Regions from separate parts of the Homo sapiens genome. Here region 2 is linked to region 1. The links are contacts of gene promoters, found by promoter capture Hi-C in human tissues and cell types (Jung and others, 2019). All regions are on one chromosome and are shown on one strand. The core of a region is centred on a gene start or on the middle of the fragment in contact, and the rest is flanking DNA. Distances in the headings are between cores, read along the strand shown. Region 1 holds the start of GHR (growth hormone receptor). Region 2 overlaps LOC102723752 (a long non-coding RNA gene).

Region 1 (3,763 bases), core at 1,264-3,763:
CACTGTGATTGGAGTATGTTTAAGGAGAAAGAACCAGAGTTCAGATGTGGACATGTCAAGTTTCAGAGGTCTGTTAGACATCCAAATGGAGATACCCAGTTGTTAGCCTGGAGCTCTGTGGAGAGATCTGGGTTAGAGATATAAATCCAAGAGATACAACTTTTCATTCAATTTGATTATTTATTGGACGCTTTATAAACTCTGTAAATACTGGGCACTAACCTAGACATTGCAGGTACAGATATTAAGAATATATAGTTTCTCCCTCAGAAATCTCTTAATTAATGAGAAAAGCAGACATGTCAACAAAACTGCAATATTTAATAAAAGAAGATATAAAGGCCTATAAAGGTGCTGATACAGGGAGAATTAATTAATTCCACCCTGGGGAATAGTCAGGAAGACCTTCAGAGAGAAAGTAAACAATTGATTGGAACTTTAAGATTAAGAAGGATTTCTCTGGGTGGACAAAGTAGGATCTTCCAAGCAGAGTGGAAACCATGAGCAAATGCAGTTTCATTCTTCAGAAGGTAAATGTGCTCTGGCATGCCTTAACTTATAACAAATTAATCAACTCAATACCTGCTACATTTTCCCTCACAATTTGGAATATATAAAGAGGCACATACTACTATGGACCAATACCTGGTCATATATGAGATTGAAGGACCTTTACTTACGAGGCTTAAAAATAAAGACTGCCCTTCATGTCAGTTGCAGGTTTATATCTAGTTCTATAGTATTAACTGAGGTGTCTTTTCCTATGTTTTCTGTGCATGATGACTTTTTAAAAATCAAAGACAGAGCAGCAGCCAGAGTAGTCTAGTTTCATGGCACACAGAATGGAGGATATTGCTGAACCCAGATTTAAAAAAAAAAAGAAGTCAATTCTTATTTTTTTAAGTATGGCCCTGAGCTCATCTCAGAGCATAAACAATAGAATTTAGAATATCTTTTATGACTCCGTCTGGCACCTCCTAAACTAGATCAAGATTCTCTAGCTCAGGGAAGAAGGGCAAAGGATGAGAAGGCACAGAGAGGATATAAACAGAGAGGTTGGTAGTGCCAGGCTCTGAAGAAGGTCCAACTTGGAAGGTCATTTCAGACAGGCGTGGAGTCAGCATTTGAGGCCTGTCTGGTCTCTACTCCTGCCAGGACTACCCTGTCAGCCAGCTTGGCAGGTATGGACCACCCAGCAGGAGTTTTTCTTGACTGTGCCCTAATCTTTTACTTTCCCAAGTTTCTCTATATGGGTACCTCCCCTTTTAAAAGCTCCAGACACAGCCAAGCACCACTATTGCTCCAGCAAAGTATGAAGCCCCAGAAATCAATGGTTTGGGGAAGAGTCTTAGGGGAACTAAATGCCTCCTTATTTTTAGATGCCATAGAACAAGAGCAGTTCAGGATCAATAACCATCCCACCCCATGATAAAACACGCCCCTTCCAGAATCTTTCCTTTTTCGTTCATTCTAGGTGTCTGTCTGGAACAGCTGGGGTATTTGAGCCACAGCTGAGCTTCTGAAAGCATTCTAAGGAACAGTTTTTCACTTATCTGATTCCTTTGAAAATAGGGGTATCTTATGTGATATCTGCTATCCCAGAGTCTTTGGTCCTCTGTTCCTTCTCAAGTCTTGGCTCCCGTGTACTACTTCAAAGCCCTATAGATATTTTATTCTAAAGAAAAGAAACTTGGTTCCTTTAAGTTGTTTAAACATTTCTTTCTGGGTATAAACTTGGGTTTGTGTCTGGGAGCTCTGTTAAAAAAAAAAAGTCTTTAGTAAGCCAAAGCTGTTAGAAGCTTATAAGTAAGTGACATTACAATTGACCGTCAGTAAATAGTGGAAAGATTGCATGACTAGCTACTCCTTCAGATCTGAGACAACCTGGAGCTAGATTTTTGTACTCTCTACTCAGAAAAGCATATAGTGACTTGGGGTTTGATGCTGTACAAAAATGACATGCTTATGCACAACTTTAACTTTCTGCAACACTTTTACAACTTCTTGTGAATGAAGTAGGCAGGGCTCGCATTTGACAGATGAGCTATGTCCAGCGTGAGGCAGAGTTAAAACCCTTTTCCTGGCTCAGGAACTTCAGGCTGGGGCCTGTGTCTGCTCTCCCTGCATCCCTGTCCTCTAGCAGATACCTCTCTGCTAACATGCTGAGTGTCCTTGGTAAATTACTCATTCTCTCTGTCTCCGTCTTCTAACCTCCACAATAAAGTCCTTCGTAGTTTTAACTATCTTTTCACTGTGCCCCAGTGAGCAGGAGTTTGGAACTTGATTGTTGATGGAAAGGCAATATTTGGATGGCTAAACACGCTTTCCAAGGTATCTCGCTGATCTTCCTCTCATTCCTGGAGATAGCTAACCTTTTTGTAAGTGTTTCTTTGAGTCTGTGGACTGCACTTAACGCTCTTGTAGGTCCTGCTTTCATTTGGAACGGGCAGGCGGAGAGGAAGGAAGTGTATTGCAACTACCAATATTTTCCTCTAGGAGGAGCCGCGCAGCTCAGTTGAGAGTGACACGCACCAACTCCAGCTCCTCGCCGGGAAGACTTCATCCCAGCAACTCGGAATGCTTGGCCCGGGCGGCACTCGGCCTCTCCGCAGCAGTTCTCGAACTGGCCTCCTTGAACGTCCGCTTCGCCTTCGCTTCTGCAACCTGGATCTGGGGGACTGCGGGCCAGGCGCGGCGTGACCCCTGGTGAACGGTGGCCGCCTTTTCCCACCCCTGCCCTCCCATCCTCCCTTCCCGTTTCACCCCGCCCCCTCTCTCCTCCCCAAGCCTGACAGCCCGCGAGCTGCCAAGCAGGGCGCAGCCATGGGAAGAGGAGGAGGGCTAGGGAGCGGCGGCGGCGGCGGCAGCGGCAGCAGCAGCTGCTACAGTGGCGGTGGCGGCGGCGGCTGCTGCTGAGCCCGGGCGGCGGCGGGGACCCCGGGCTGGGGCCACGCGGGCCGGAGGCCCCGGCACCATTGGCCCCAGCGCAGACGCGAACCCGCGCTCTCTGATCAGAGGCGAAGCTCGGAGGTACTGGAGTGGGGCTCCGGGAGTCTGGCTTTATTTTCCTCCTGTTGTGCCAGGGGGCCTGAGGGTGAACCCTGGGACTCTAGTTGTTTATGAAAACGGGAGGATCTGTCTTATATATTTACACGGATAATTTTTTATTCCGGATGACTTGGCTGTGCTCCCCTCCTCCTTGCGAAGAAGTTGTTTTCTGCTGGTGGGTTGTTGTAACCCAATCTAGTGTGTGTGTGTGTGTGTGTGTGTGTGTGTGTGTGTGTGTGTGTGTGTCTGGAAGTTGGTGAGGGCGGCAGGGAGTTGCGGGCGACAGACGAACCATCACACTCTGGCGTCTGCTCTGGCCCGCGAGTAGTGTACGTGGAGGGGTTTACTCCGGAGACAGTTTTGTTAAAGTCATAAAAGTTTTGCTAGTGTGTTTCTGTTTGCCATCATCTGCCTGGCTGCGGCAGGAACTGCCGAGGCTGCTGCTGTTGCGCGGGGAAGAATCCCCGGCAGCGCGACTGGAGAGACTGGGGAGGTCGAGCTGTGCGCGTGGACACAGCGCGCAGAGCGCGCGGTCTTTTGCGCGTTTGTGCGGGCCGCAGCCGCACGTTGGCACCGATGGAACTGGGGTCAGTAGAGTGACAGCCACCAGTCCGCATGAACTGGGGTAAGTGGAAATTGTGGCGAGCCGACCTCCCCCAGCTTTTGACACACTAGTGGTTGTAAAATCAACCAGGCTTAAAGTTTTGACAGAACT
Region 2 (3,763 bases), core at 591-3,090, 550 kb before region 1:
ACAGTGAATTTGCACAACCTCAGAATCAAGTGTTGACAGCAAAATAATAAAGAGCAGGAATTCTGTGGTTAGGCTTCTAGGGTTCAAGTCTCAGCTCTGCAGTCTCTAGCTATACGGCCTTCTGTGGTGCAGTAGTTAAGCAGGGCTTACAGAATGTCAAGATGTAAGGTAATCTCTAGATCAATATTTGCATTATTCAGGTGTTAAAAGATTATACATTATTAATTATTTCCCAGATGCTATCTTAGTCCATTCTTGCTGCTACAACAAAATATCTTAGGCTGGGTAAGTTACAAGAAGAAATGTATTTCTCACAGTTCTGGAGGCTGGAAAGTCCAAGATCAAGGCACCAGCATATTGAATATGTTAAATTAAATTAAATTTGGCCAAAAGCTGCTTCCATACTTTGGAATTCTGCATAGCAAACTGCACCTAAGTTAGTGTTTAAATAAACCTTACTTAAGAGTATGTTCTTGTAACAGATAGCTGAGTCTCAGCTAATTACAGCAGCCAGGTTTCATCCAATCACATACTACCAACTAATAAGACCATGTCCACATAAGGCAAATGCCACATTGCATTGTGCCCAAATAAGGCAAATGCTGGGCCATAATCAATCAAGCTGTTTCTGTACCTCAATTCCTCTTTCTGCCTATAAATACTGCCTGCTCACATTGCTGAGTGGGGCTTTCTGAACCTCTACTGGTTCAGAGTGCTGCCTGATTCATGAATTGTTCTTTGCTCAAATAAACTCTGCTAAAGTTAATTTGTCTAAAGTTTTTCTTTTAACAAGGGTCTGATGAGAGCCTGTTCCTCATAGATTATACCTTCTCTGTGTCCTCACATAATGGAAGGGGCAGAAGACATAAACAGTTCCCTTGTACCTCTTCTATAAGGGCACTAGTCACATTCATGAGCTCTCATGATTTAATCACTCTGAAAAGCCCCATATCTTAATACTATCACACTGGCAATTAAGTGTCAACATATGAATTTGGGGAGGACACATTCAAACCACAGCAGGTGCTTTGGTTACTGAAAACATAAAGTAAACTGAAAAATTTACTTAATAAACTGAAAAAAATAAGGCAAGATTCAAACCCTGGACCATATGTTATTAAAAGCTGCTATTTCTTTATACCTCCCTCTTTCTGAGATATCTTTGAATCTTACCCCAACTCTCCAGTTTCACTCATTCTGCACTACTTCAGGGCCTCAGTTTCAGTTTCTCTCATCTGAATTATTTCAGTTTCCTTCCAAATGAATTTCCATTCTCCCTCAATTTAAACATACTTAAAATTATTATTTCAAATACAGGATCTGGTCTTCTCACATCTTTTTCTAAAATATTTCAAGAAATGCTCAAAGGCTGCAAGTGAAGTCCAACATTCAATTATAGGCAAGATTTTGTTTAATCTAGCCTCAACAAATCATGTGGCCTTAAGGGCTCTGCAGAGGTACTTCAGGGGCTATGCAAACATTATATTTTGAAATTAAATTTTAGATTACATTTTTACTATTCTATCAACACTAACAAAAGGAGCATGCACACTCAATTGTGATCTATCTTTGATTTAAAAGTATTAAAAATTACCAGATTGTGGCTGGGCATGGTGGCTCACACCTGTAATCCCAGCACATTGGGAAGCAAAGGTGGGCAGATCACCTGAGGTTAGGAGTTCCAGACCAGCCTGGCCAACATGGTGAAACCCCATCTCTACTAAAAATAAAAAATTAGCCTGGCATATGGCACATGTACTCCAAGCTACTCTGGAGTCTGAGGCAGGAGAATCACTTGAACCTGGGAGATGAAGGTTGCAGCGAGCTGAGATTGCACCATGTACTCCAGCCTGGGTGACAGAGCGAGATTCCATCTCAAAAAAAAAAACAAAAAACAAAAAAAAAAAAACAGACCAGATTGTGCAGTTGGGAGACAAACCTTAGATTAAAGGTTCCTCATCATCAAATTTCCTATATTTGAATATATAAAATATGTCATTGATAAAGATGTTTGTAGCTCTGTATTTATCTTTTTATCATTTAGACCTCTGCATTTTGACTCACTTAAATTTATATAAGTATATAATACTTTGAGGCTCTGGTCAGAGACATGTACTGCCTAGAATTATTTCTTATCACAGCATTGTAGTTGTTCAAAAAGAGCATATAAAACACTTCATGATAATATTGTACTATAAATAGTTTTAGAGATTATTTTCCATTTTGGCTACATCTTGTCTGACATTTACATATGTGAACAAGAGGTAATTGACATTATTAGTTATTGACCACTGAAGCAAACATTTCCTGCTACTTTTCTTTCAAGCTTCTGATCTACTTTAATTGAAGCATATACTGAAATTCTGGGACAAGCTGCAGTGTGAATCAGAACTTTCTTATTATTGTGCAGCCAAACAGAAATAAAATAAGCAAAATATCAGATATAACTCCATGGCTGCAATATTTAGCTTCTCCGAAGAGCTTCATTATTCTCATTTTTTCCATGTATAACAGGAAAATATTTCACAATTAAAATGATAAAATGCATTTAAACTGTAAAGTACCACTTTTACACATTGTATATGTTGGGTTCTAAATACAATTTTATTTGAAAGGGTGACTCATATTAAATATGTTTGAAAATTATGGCTTTAGCTAAATTCGACTACTTTCTGCTCCCTGCACATACCAAGCACCTTCTGACAGGGAGCCTTTGCTAAAGCCTTTTTTTCTGTGCCAGCTGAGCAAACTCCTACTCCTCTTTCAAGACTCAGATCAAATGTCACTCCTCTGTGTACCTTGACTGTTCACACTCCGAATTCCACCTCTTAAAAAACTATATTCTTTTACTTTGTGCTCTCAGGGCCCTTGGTCACCTGGATTATGAGCTTATTAAGTTTTGTTCATTTTTGTATCTATAGTGTCCTAGGATTTCTTTTAAGCATAGAGCAGTTCAACAAATATCAGTTGTGTTGACTTGACTTGGGTAACCCTTTTTTGCTGCCTTAATACAAGCCATGAACTTAACCTGTGTCTCTCAGCTCAGCTCTTTAAATTGAATACTTTCTTTCTAATCATGATGTGATAGTAGTAATTATTTACATTTTCATTGTCTTTTACAGCTTACTTTGTGCTCACCATCATCCTTTGGCCTTTCTTCTCTAACACAGTTCCTGTATCCAGCCTCATGCTTTGCTGTGCCTGTAACTGTCTTCTCCCCACAGATAACCTGTCATTGAAGTACATGAAGAAAATAGTCAAATAGTGAGTTACAAATTGTACTTCCCTCTTTCAAATGGTCCCTGTTTCCCTCATTATTATTTTCTTCCCTTGTGAATATTCCATTTGGTTAAATCTTTTTCACAATAAAGTAACCCAAACCAAGTATGATATTTTGGCTACATGATCCCGCTGTTTATGTTCCCAGACAACCAGTAACACCTGCAATAATACATTTCAAAAAAAATACTGCCAAGAGATTGTGACACCCTGGCTCAGTAGAATACATCAGGGTCACTTATAAATATCCAACCACAGAGAAATGATTCATTACATTATAGTGCATCATCTTGAAAAACTATTATGCCACTATTAAAAAGTAAAAATTTCAAATTGTATGTGGAAATGGTTAGGATAAGGGTAAAAGTCAGAATTCAAATTGTATTATATAAGGATTACAACCATGTATTATATGTTTTTGCAAAATAAATGAAAAGACCATCTAAAAGTGAGGAAAAAATCAATACAATGAGGGCAAGAATTT

The links. Contacts are between HindIII fragments. The study calls those that stand out against the background at their distance.
Region 2: a contact is called between a fragment that was not itself captured here and the fragment with the promoter of GHR in region 1, in 1 of the 25 tissues and cell types used here (heart left ventricle).

Annotation. Positions count from the first base shown.
Region 1 is chr5:42,420,926-42,424,688 of GRCh38, forward strand. It overlaps GHR (growth hormone receptor), which reads left to right and starts at 2,514. Exons shown (of 10, transcript NM_000163.5): 1 at 2,514-3,030. RefSeq lists promoters at 1,797-2,882, 2,306-2,878, 2,488-2,588, 2,786-3,554, 3,207-3,554 and 1 more, cis regulatory regions at 1,797-2,305, 2,643-2,683 and an enhancer at 2,510-2,659. The HindIII fragment of the contact is 10,174 bases long and covers 446-3,763 here.
Region 2 is chr5:41,874,132-41,877,894 of GRCh38, forward strand. LOC102723752 (a long non-coding RNA gene) reads left to right here. Exons shown (of 3, transcript XR_925956.4): 2 at 3,123-3,264. Among named protein-coding and RNA genes, the nearest start is that of OXCT1, 5.6 kb to the left of the region's middle. The HindIII fragment of the contact is 7,449 bases long and covers 1-3,763 here.